Linked DNA regions of Homo sapiens: regions 1, 2 and 4 are each linked to region 3. Evidence: promoter capture Hi-C in 16 types of primary human blood cells and fetal thymus (Javierre and others, 2016). All regions are on one chromosome and are shown on one strand. The core of a region is centred on a gene start or on the middle of the fragment in contact, and the rest is flanking DNA. Distances in the headings are between cores, read along the strand shown. Region 1 has its middle 360 kb from the start of SNORD151. Region 2 overlaps LOC105375268 (a long non-coding RNA gene). Region 3 holds the start of IGFBP3 (insulin like growth factor binding protein 3). Region 4 overlaps LOC105375268 (a long non-coding RNA gene).

Region 1 (2,700 bases), core at 88-2,587, 1.2 Mb after region 3:
GATAAATGTGGAATAAAACTATATAGATATATAAATAACTATTCCAAAACATTCATAGCAGAGATACTAGAAGAAGGTTCACCAAAAGGTACTTATTTATGAGTTATTTACGAGTTACTACTAGAGTAATTTTTAAGCTACATATTTTTTAAAAAGAGGAAGAAAGTGATAAATAACCGGCTTGCAATTCCTCTTTTCCCTGGTAGAAATGAAGCAAGCAGCATTAAACACAAGCAAATTTTAAAAACCCCACCTGGCTCCATTCCAGCACTTGGTTTCCATCTCATCTCCTGCAGCTCCGTGGCCTGGCCAGACCCACCTCAGATGCCACTGGCTCCTCTTTTGCTCATGGTCTCTGTGCCCAGGCTCAGCTCTGTGCCCCAAGCCTGACACCCCTTGAGTGTGGACCCTGCAGTCCACAGCCTCTAGACAGGTCACTCAGCTACCACCAATAACTCAGAGCCTCCTTAGGACCTAACAAGTGTGTCTCTTATGAATAAAATTACCTATTTCTGGCTGGGCACAGTGGTTCATACCTGTAATCCCAGGACTTTCGGAAGCTGAGGCGGGTGGATCACCTGAGGTCAGGTGTTCGAGACCAGCTTGGCCAACATGGTGAAATCCCATCTCCACTAAAAATACAAAAATTAGCCGGATGTGGTGGCACATGCCTGTAGACCCATCTACTTGGGAGGCTGAGGCAAGACAATTGCTTGAACCCGGGAGGCAGAGGTTGCAGTGAGCCGAGATTGCTCCATAGCACTCCAGCGTGGGCAACAGAGTGAGACTCCATCTCAAAAAAAAAAAAATTACCTATTTCTGCTACACATAAATAAAGGTGTGGGTTTTTCTTGGTTTTTTTTTTTGGCTTTTTTTTTTGAGATGGAGTCTCACTCTGTCTGTCACCCAGGCTGGAGTGCAGTGACCCAATCTCGGCTCACTGCAAGATCCACCTCCCGGGTTCACACCATTCTCCTGCCTCAGCCTCCCGAGTAGCTGGGACTACAGGCGTCTACCACCACGCCCGGCTAATTTTTTGTATTTTTAGTACAGATGGGGCTTCACCGTGTTAGCCAGGATGGTCTTGATCTCCTGACCTCGTGATCTGCCTGCCTCGGCCTCCCAAAGTGCTGGGATTACAGGTGCGAGCCACCGTGCCCAGCCAAACATAGGTATTTAATTCAAATTTTGGTGAGATACATTCTCGTCAAATATTTAATAGGTGTTAACCCTGTTAAATATTCGGAAGCAATTATAAAAATAATATTGTGCACCTACCATTTTAAAATTCAGCACACATTTTACATCTATTAAAATGCACAGGTATTGATAACAGCAATAGCTACTGACGTGAACTGAGTACCTCACCTGTGCCCATACTGAGGGTTAGGGCAGGGATTCCCTCATCCTCATGCTCCCCATGAACTGCGCGCTGCCCACGACTGAGGCTCAGGGCTGCGGGCTTGCGTGCATTCACTCACACAGCCTCCAAACAACCCCAGCAACCTCTGATGCCAGGATCGCTGAGATGCCGGAGGGCTGGTCTTTACCAGGGTCATACCTCTGATGAGGGAGGACCAGGACTAAACACAAGCAGGTTGCCTCCCGAGCTTCACCAATGGGCCACACCACTCCACAGAGCCCTCAGTGGAAGGAGTTTCTGCTCTCCTGCCTGCAGGGTTGTGTGGTGGGTGGAGCGAGTATCCATCTTCCTCATCTTGGTCACGCCCCTAGAGGAAGAGCAGCAGCCAATGAGATTGATGAGCCCATGACACCCACAGGCCACGGCTGCTACCTCTGTGGACAGCCTCAGTCAGAGGTCGCTCCTTAACCGGGGTGCCCTGGGGATCAGGGTGTGCTTTCTCCCTCTTGTCTCCCCACGCGGAAGGGGAGAGGGCAGCAGAAGGAAGCCCACCCTCTCCTACATCTGCCCACAGCCGAGACCCCGCATCCAGGGAAAGGGGCTGTAGGACTTTACTCTGCCTCTTGCTCACACCTCTGGTTGGAGGAGGGAGGGAGCCTAGATCCCTGGGAGCCTACCGGCAGCAGTCAGGAGCTCTGCCTCCCTCCCCCAGCACTCTGCCGTGTGAACACTGCCAGCTCCACTGTCAGGATGAAGCAATGGAGACCCAGAGTGAAAAATCATGCTGAGCACATGGCAGATCAACCTGGGTCCTCATGACTCCAATGCCTTTGATACACATTTACCCTCTGGAATAACAGAATTATAAAACCTAACACAATTTGCTATAAATAGATTAATTTTTCCCCTTTCTCCTGATAGACAAGACTATTGATAATAAGTCATTTTTAAAACCAATAAAAATTTTTATCTTTAAAATATATTCTAAAAATTGAATTAAAACCAAAACAAATCTTTAAGAAAAATCAGTATTTTCTTTTCTGGAATCTCCTGGCTACTCCCACATATCACCTCCAATTGCACACACAGACTCAGATTCTTTTGTTTTGTTTTTGTTTTTGTTTTTGTTTTTGTTTTTGAGCCGGGGTCTCACTCTATGGCTCAGGCTGGAGTGCAGTGGCATGATCATGGCTCACCGCAGTCTCCATTTTCTGGGCTCAGGTGATTCTCCCTCCTCAGTCTTCTGAGTAGCTGGGAGTACAGGCACACACAACCATGCCCTGCTAATTTTTTTTTTTTTTTAGACACAGCGTCTCACTATGTTGCCCAGACTGGTC
Region 2 (2,700 bases), core at 94-2,593, 1.1 Mb after region 3:
CAGGATATCAGTATAGCTTGACATATGAAAGGTAGCATCCTATCAGTTAACATAACGCAATGTGATTCAATGCACTGCAATGAAAATAAAGTTAAGGTCCAGGTATTTGTATCTATTCCTCTTTTTTCTTCTCAGGATCCTTCTCTTTGGTGTTTGTTGGGCTGCCCAGCATTTATTTAACTGTGCAGGTAACCTCACTCAAGAAACTGAGGAAAGCTAAACCCCTCCACAGTGGCAAAAATGAGGGACACACTCTGAGAAAAAGAACCAGGATTGTGAAAGAGGCCACAGGATGATCCAGTAAGATAGGAGGGGAGCATGAGGAAGAAGGCTCCCTGAGGGCTGGGGTGAGGGTGAAACAGTTGTGGGCAGGACCCCTGGTAGCCGCCTTCAAGGCTGGAACACGAGGGAGGCGGCGGTACACTATGGTAGGGTTTCTGAAGGTTTCTTTCAGATACATTATATAACCCATTCTTCAGTGACCCAGAACTTCTCTCAGGACCCGTAATGCTATTGCTTGTATCTGGCAATAAGTAAGTGTTTACTTGTCTACGGAAATTTTTTTTGGATGGATTTTCTAGATCATATGTGTTGTTTTTTTGAAGCTGTGATGTGCTGCTATTGGCCATAAAGCAAAAGAACAAATTTTTGGTTTTATATGGGTCTCTAAAGATCTGCCATTGAAAGAATCATCTCCTACAAAAGTTTCAAACAATGATTATTCTGTTTAATACGAATTTTCAAGGCACAACCTTTAGAGTAGACAGTTTATTCTAACCCCTCCCTCAGTCTATTTCCCAAAGTATTGCTTGATTGAATGAACACTAATTGTGTAATAGAAACAACACTTTGAGAAGTTCTAGTAGTCGGGTTATAAGAAATGGTTAGGAAAGGAAGTCAGTAACCGTGTGCACAAGAACAATAATTAGCTGGATAGCAGGAAGCTGCCGGGTTCTCACACAAAAGCTTTCAGGCTCATCTTTTCCCTCTTACTTCCTCTCTTAAGGTGTCACCAACATACATATAGTCTCCTTTAAAAAGATTTGGCATCCTAAAGTGAGTTATTATTTTTAAAGTCAAGTAAAAATACAGTAACCCAGAATGAGAAAGACTCTGTAATAAGTCATTCAGGCATTTACATACAGACTAAGCATAATAGGATGACATCTATAATCTTACGAAGAGTGTGAATCTGCTGGGTGCAGTGGCTCATGCCTGTAATCCCAGCACTTTGAGAGGGTGAGGCGGGTGGATTGCTTGAGGTCAGGAGTTCGAAACCAGCCTGGCCAACATGGCAAAACACTGTCTCTACTAAAAATACAAAAAAAAAAGTAACCAGGCATGGTGGTGCCTGTAGTCCCAGCTACTCAAGAGGTTGAGGCAGGAGAATCTCTTGAACCCAGGAGACGAGGTTGCAGTGAGCTGAGATCACGCCTCTGCACTCCAGCCTGGGTGACAGAGTGAGACTCTGTTTCAAAGAAAAAAAGAGTGTGAATCTTTTCTCCCCTTGCTTTATAGCATAAGAGAAAGGCCATCAAGTTGGGGGCACATTTCTCATTCTGAGTGAGGCTGACTTTGCCTTCACAATGTAAATCATGGACACACATGGGAGATGAGGTCTTCCCATACAACTGTATGTAGTTTTCAATCTCACAACAATAATCAGGCAACATCCTAGAGAATAATTATAAGTGGATTTGTTGGAAGTAGGAGGGAGAATGAAGCTTCATCATGCATACAACCAGTTTGTCTTGTGTAATGTAAGATGCATCCTAGTTATTCTGAAACAGTATTTAAAGCAAAAGGTTTGCTCAAGATAGAAAAAAATAGATAAAGCTTAGTCTCATGGAATGATCTATGGGTTACTCATCCAAGCTCTCACTTTCTCCCCTTCTCTATCCATATTAACTACACATGTGGGCTTGATAGTGCACAAGATAGCCTCAATTCACAAGATAACTTTCTTTCTTTTAGCAAACACTCAGCCTTCTCACACTATTCTCATATCTAGAAGATTGACCTAAAATCTCAGTTAATCAACTTATGCCTAAAAGCAGATATCAGTGCAAAAACCTTAGCAATGTCTAGGAGGAAATAATCAATGAGATGACAATGGAAAGAAAGCCTATATATCCTATTGTAAACTAAAAAGTACCTGAGACAAGTCTCAATCAGTTTAAAAGCTTATTTTGCCAAAGCTAAGGAAATGCCTGTGACACAGCCTCAGGAGGTCCTGATGACATGTGCCTAAGGTGATTGGGTTACAACTAGGTTTTATACATTTCAGGGAGACAAGACATTAATCAATACATGCAAGATGTACATTGCTTTGGTCCAGAAACGTGGGAAAACTGGAAACGGGGGCTTCCACGTCATAGATGGATTCAAAGATTTTCTTATTGACAATTGGTTGAAAGAGTTATTATCTAAAGACCTGGAATCAGGCCAGGTGCAGTGGCTCATGCCTGTAATCCAAACACTTCGGGAGGCCGAGGCAGGAGAATCAGTTGAGGTCAGGAGTTCAAGACCTGCCCAGCTAATATAATGAAATCCCATCTCTACTAGAATTACAAAAATTAGCTGGGCATGGTGGTGCACACCTGTAGTCCCAGCTACTTGGGAGGCTGAGGCAGGAGAATTGCTTAAACTCAGGAGGCAGGGGTAGTAGTGAACCAAGATTGCACCACTGCACTCCAGCCT
Region 3 (2,700 bases), core at 7-2,506:
CCACCACGCACCTGGAAGTTTGTTTGAGGTCGGCGCAGGTGCAGGGGTGGCCCGAGTTGTAAGAATGGTATGGTACTGAAAGTGGCACGCGGAGTTCAAACCTACACTCTGTTGTGGCCGCTGGGTAACCTTAAGAAGTTACTTCTTTTTCAGCTTCAGGTTTTCCAACCGCAGAAGATATCAAAACCCGAATCCACTTTACTTGTTTTTGGACATACCGGGACTAGACATTGCTTTGCAAACCAAAAGGCTGTGCAAAGTCAGTATTTTAAAAGAGAGGTACTATTTCCTACAACGTGCCTGCCCACCTTCCTTGGTCCAAATCCGCCTATATCCCCCCCATCCCCAAGCATCCCTGGGATTGCAGTCCGTGTGCACCCCCGTGCGGGGCGAGGAGAATCTCCTGTGTCCAGGATCTTTCCAACAGCTAAACATCGGTACCGCTCCCCTCAGCTCCGGAAACCTTTAACCCATTTTCACTGAAAGCGCTTTGCAATTTACAAGTACTCTGCACTTAGAGAATCGAGCAAGTAGAGGGCCGGCTGGGGAGGGTCCCTCCGGCGACCGCCTTCACCTTTCCCGGAGCGCCTTCAGTTTCCCCACATATTATCTCCAGTGAGAAGAAAAGCGGAGTCTCCCGCAGCGGCACCCAGCAACCCCCAGGCCCTTCGGCGCCAGTGCGCCGGGTGCTGCACGCAGCGCACCTGGCGCGGGCGGCTCACCTGGAGCTGGCGGCGCTGGCAGCAGGTAGGCGCGCAGGCGGCTGACGGCACTAGCGTTGACGCAGAGCCCGCGGCCGTCCAGCAGCGCCTGCAGCGGTCGCGCCTCGTCGGGCGACGGCTGGCAGCGAAGGCCGGAGCCACAGCGCTCGGTGTAGATGCCGCACGGCTGGCCCTCGCTCAGTGCGCACGTCAGGCAGCAGCCGCAGCCCGGCTCGCGCACCAGCTCCGCGCACACGGCGGGCGGAGGCGCGCACTGGGCCAGTGCACGCGCGTCGCACGGCTCGCAGCGCACCACGGGACCCAAGCCCGCCGAGCTCGCGCCAGCCCGCGCCACCGGCGGCCCGCGGAGCAGCACCAGCAGAGTCAGCGCAGCGGCCCAGAGCGTGGGTCGCGCCCGCTGCATGACGCCTGCAACCGGGGCACGCTGCTTGGCAGGCTGGGCGCGCAGGGATGGGGCGACAGTACACGGCGCGAAGCTGTGGAATCCAGGCAGGAAGCGGCTGATCCTCAGCGCCCAGCCGCAGTGCTCGCATCTGGGCGGCCCGGGCGCGCCGGCCGCTATATAGAAGCCGGGGTGGCCCAGGACACGCCCCGGAACGGCGCGCCCAGGAGTGGGGGTTGGGAGGGGGGCGGGTCGGCGCAGGCACGGCTGCGGGGGCCCGTGCTTCGCCCTGAGCAGCCGGGGCCGAGCTCGGGGGCGTGCAGCTCGAGACTCGCCCGGGCACCTGCTCCTCGTGCGCACGCCCGGAGCCCGGGTCACCTTGTCGTCTACAAGAACCAAGGTGTGCCCGGCCACCCCGGCACTCCAGGCCACCTCAGCACCCCCGGTCACCCCAGTCACTCCTGGCCAACTCAGCACCCCCGATCTCCTTGACCCCGCCGCCCTTACCCCTTCCGCTCTCGGGGTGAGGTCTCCCTGCGGCGAGCCGGTGTCGGGGAAACTGGCATACAGCGCTCCGCATTCGTGTGTACCTCGTGGAGCTTTCTAAAATTTAATTCCGTTGGCAGGCGAAGTCTTGGGACATTTCTGACTTACATTTGGGTCTCAGGGAGCCAAGGCACTGCGGGGTTTAATTTACACCCGCTGGGCTGTTTATATCCCCAGGGGCCCACAAATACGCATCTGAAGATGCGCCCGGGGCCTTCGCCCCTTTCCAGGCTTACTTCTCAACGCAAGAAGACTCTCACGTGTTGCTACACCGCAAGTCTCCAATTAAGAGTGGACCGGCAAGCGAATGCGTCCTTAAGGCAGGGCTTTTCAAATATTTTAAATGACAACTGTTCTTCTTGTCTTGGGTATTCTCCCTGATTATGTTTTCAAATGGAGTTTACACCCATGACAAAAGAATAATAAAGACAATAAACTGGGCACTGCTGAAACGTAATTAACCAAATAGTCCTTTAATAGGCAATTTTCATTGTCATTTTTTGAAGGCGACTTCGTATTACTGTATTCTCGATGCGTTGGGATTCTAGCTTATCTCTGCAATCTAAACACTTTTCAGTAAAGTTCGGGGGCGCAATTGCGCGCTGAGGTCGCTGTAACTCCTGTCGGCCTTCTCTGGCACTCGAGTTTCTTCAGTTTTGTCTGCGCACCCCCTCCCTTCGGTGACCAACAGAGGACGCTGGTGGTCCAGGATTGGATTGAGGATTAAATTTTTCAAGGCACTTTTCCAAAGAGTTTGTGGGGGTGGAGTGGGAAGCGGTGAGACCTCCGCGGGAGGAGACTTTCCTGAACGCTGTTGAAATTGGACGCTTGCCTTAGGAGGTGGATAGGTGACTTGAAGGAGCCCTTTGCAGTTTGGAGTAGTAATAGCAAATCAGGAGCTCCTCCATTCCCCTCCAGCACGAAGCCTTGGGTGAAGTTAATCTTCATTCATCATTTCTGTCTCTCCTAATCGATCTCTCGCCCAGTGTCTCTCCTTGTCCCTCTCCCTCCCTTTCTCTCTCTCGTCCTCTCCCCTTTTCCCCCTGTCCA
Region 4 (2,700 bases), core at 1-2,500, 1.1 Mb after region 3:
TGTGTGTGTGCATATGTGTGGGGTGCTTCATGCCTTTTTTCTCAGTGTGTGCATGCATGTAATTATGTACTAAGACATACCGAGTGTGTGCCACGTGCTTTCTTTCTGTACATGTGCATGCACATATATACATGTGCTAAGCCATGGGAAGGAGGTATTACACGCCTTTTTCGTTCTGTGCAGTCATGTGGGTGTGTGTAAGTGCATGTGTGCTATACTCCATGCCGTTTGCTTTATAACATTTCTTCCACCCTCACCTCTTTGCCTTCTGTGCTTAGAGTTTCTTTCTTGTTTCAAATGGTTGAATATCAATGTTTCTGTTCTTTCTGACTCTTTCCATCTTTTTCTTCTATTCTATTAGCAAAAGAAAAGTTACCACAAGGGATGGGAACAAGAAAGATAACATTGTGTGCCAAATTGTTTTCCTGCTCTGTTTTTACTCTGTGGGCTCATCTGGATGTCAGTTTTGTTGTTGAACTCATAGGGTTAATTACCTTCCCCTGTCCCTCTTATCTCTTTAAAATCTCCTGAAATCTTTCCATTCTTGGAAAATGCACACACACACATACACGCACTCACTCTTACTCACATACATGTCCTTAGATGTCATGTCCATGGGCCCCAGGTTAAGTGAGATGCTTCACAAGTACAGCGGCTGCCACATTGGTCCCTGAATCCTCAATGCCAGCACAGGGCCAGGCAGACAGTAGGTGAATGTGGAATGAATATGTGAATTAATCAGGAGGGCCAGTGGGGGTCCATTTATCTTTAAGATCATGTGTTGTGTTACTTGGTCAGCAACATGTTTAGGTGGAAAAAGTTAATCTGCTTCAGGTTTCTTGAAACATCCAGGAATACTTTCCCTCAGTCTCTTTTAAAAATGTTTGTTATTATTCACATAAATTCATCCTGCTTCTTTTAATAATTCAGGCTTCTACCACCTAAGGTCAGTATGTACAGTTGCATAGGCTGTGCACTGTTTTTGTTCAGGGTGTCTGGCCAAAGAGAGGAGAGAGAGCTAAAATTCAAGCTTCTTTGCTGGGGCAGGGTAGGTCTGCCTTGAGGAGGAAGCACCTGCCTGCAGTGCTGTGCTTCCCCAGGGGGATGCTTGCTGTAATCTGCACAAAGAAGCAGGGTGGATTCGCCGTGAGCCGCCTACAGGTTACGTAAATCCCTGGGCTACCGTTCTCCAAACTCTAGGTCAAGTTGAGGAAGATGGACACATGCCACCTTTTCATTATGACTTGCTGCGTAGATCAGAATGGGAAAATATTCTGGAAAGAACATCAGCAACAGACACTAGATTTAAGTAGACTATTTCAATCTCCTTTGGTGCTTTCCTACCTGAGCACAGAGTGGGTGAGATGTGGATTTGTGTTGAGGACAGAGAGCCTGAGAGCAATGAAAAGGAAATCAGGAACAGAGGCTGAGCCAGCCACGGGTGGCCCCAGGGGACATCATCATGAACATGAAGCTTTCTGGAAGGCTAGAAGTCGCACTCAGTGGGTGTTTGGGTCTTTATTGCACATCTGTAGTTCCAACCCTTTTCCCTCCCAGGAACTCATGGTGTCCTGTAGTTCTTGTTTACTTTTTCCAAGTGAGAAATCATTCTGCCTTTCTGCCTGCTAACTCCTTTCCTGATGTGAAAGCTCTTTCCCCAATATCAGATTCTCGCTGGCCTTTGTCTTAAAGCAGCCACCATGGAGAACAGGTAGGAACTCGGCTCCCATTCACATGGCCCCTAGCCTCAAAGAAGTAAATTATATCTGTGGGAATCCCTGCTCAGGAGCCCTGCTGACCACACATCTCGCATCTCAGGGCTCTGTTGTGGAAAGGTCCCTCGCAGGCATGACCCACCAAGAATGTTGCCTTTGTTAATTACACCAGTTAACATTGTTAAATGTTTACCATGCCCCAGGCATTGAAATGGGCATTTTACCTTCATTCTTTCATTTGTCACCACAACCCTCTCAGAAGTTACTTAGCATCAGTCTACCTCAGCTTTCTCTTTTATAAAAGAAGAAAACAACACCTGTATTGTGTGGCAAGATTGCTATGATAATAAGAACACCACATTAAAAATACCCAGCAGGGCACCTGGGGTGCACCCAGCTCTCAGCGAGCTGTAGGAACTTCTTTGCTATGACTGGGGCCCTCTGTAAAGTCACATAAGAACAAAATGCAGACATCTGGGCTATATTCAAACAACAGCAAAAGATTGTTCAACATTGGAAGAGCTGGGTTTAGGTGATTTTTTGATATTTTCCTCTTGTGGCCAAATCATATTTGCTGGGTTAATTTTCAAAACTTAGAACAAATTGTCATCTAGTAACTTTTAATGATCTCAGCTTGAGTGTGTTTCCTGCTGTTAGTTCACTCGGAATGTTCTGGGCTGTGTATCAAATGCATTCTCATTGTGTGGTTGCCAGAGAGGAAAAATGCCCATTGTCTTGGCTGTGGCTATTTTTATTTAAATTGCAGTCCAACTTTTAGAAAGTCTTAAGGGTCATAAATGTGAAATGGTGGACAAAGTGCTTTTGAAAAAAAATACATTGTTTTTATTTAAAACAAAAAGTAATGCATGCTCATAAGAGCAAATTTAGGAGACACATAGTATAAAAGAAAAAAAATTAGTTCCATATAGGCCTTTTTCTAAACACAACCACTATTAACTTTTTGGTGAGTTTTTTAATGCAGTTA

Evidence for each region. Contacts are between HindIII fragments. The CHiCAGO score rates a contact against its expected background, and 5 or more counts as called.
Region 1: a fragment that was not itself captured here is called in contact with the fragment with the promoter of IGFBP3 in region 3 in 14 of 17 cell types (M2 macrophages, M1 macrophages, monocytes and 11 more); the score reaches 19.6 in M2 macrophages.
Region 2: a fragment that was not itself captured here is called in contact with the fragment with the promoter of IGFBP3 in region 3 in 1 of 17 cell types (total B cells); the score reaches 5.0 in total B cells.
Region 4: a contact is called between a fragment that was not itself captured here and the fragment with the promoter of IGFBP3 in region 3, in 2 of 17 cell types (M1 macrophages and M2 macrophages). The highest score is 6.2, in M1 macrophages.

The regions. Positions count from the first base shown.
Region 1 is chr7:47,102,287-47,104,986 of GRCh38, forward strand. No RefSeq gene overlaps it. Among named protein-coding and RNA genes, the nearest start is that of SNORD151, 360 kb to the right of the region's middle. The HindIII fragment of the contact is 9,690 bases long and covers 1-2,700 here.
Region 2 is chr7:47,014,236-47,016,935 of GRCh38, forward strand. All of the region lies in intron 2 of LOC105375268 (a long non-coding RNA gene), which reads right to left. Among named protein-coding and RNA genes, the nearest start is that of SNORD151, 450 kb to the right of the region's middle. The HindIII fragment of the contact is 758 bases long and covers 965-1,722 here.
Region 3 is chr7:45,920,016-45,922,715 of GRCh38, forward strand. It overlaps IGFBP3 (insulin like growth factor binding protein 3), which reads right to left and starts at 1,257. Exons shown (of 5, transcript NM_000598.5): 1 at 723-1,257. The coding sequence starts at 1,125. RefSeq lists enhancers at 1,060-1,640, 1,641-2,221. The HindIII fragment of the contact is 8,094 bases long and covers 1-2,700 here.
Region 4 is chr7:47,037,702-47,040,401 of GRCh38, forward strand. All of the region lies in intron 2 of LOC105375268 (a long non-coding RNA gene), which reads right to left. Among named protein-coding and RNA genes, the nearest start is that of SNORD151, 430 kb to the right of the region's middle. RefSeq lists an enhancer at 1,395-2,177. The HindIII fragment of the contact is 444 bases long and covers 1,029-1,472 here.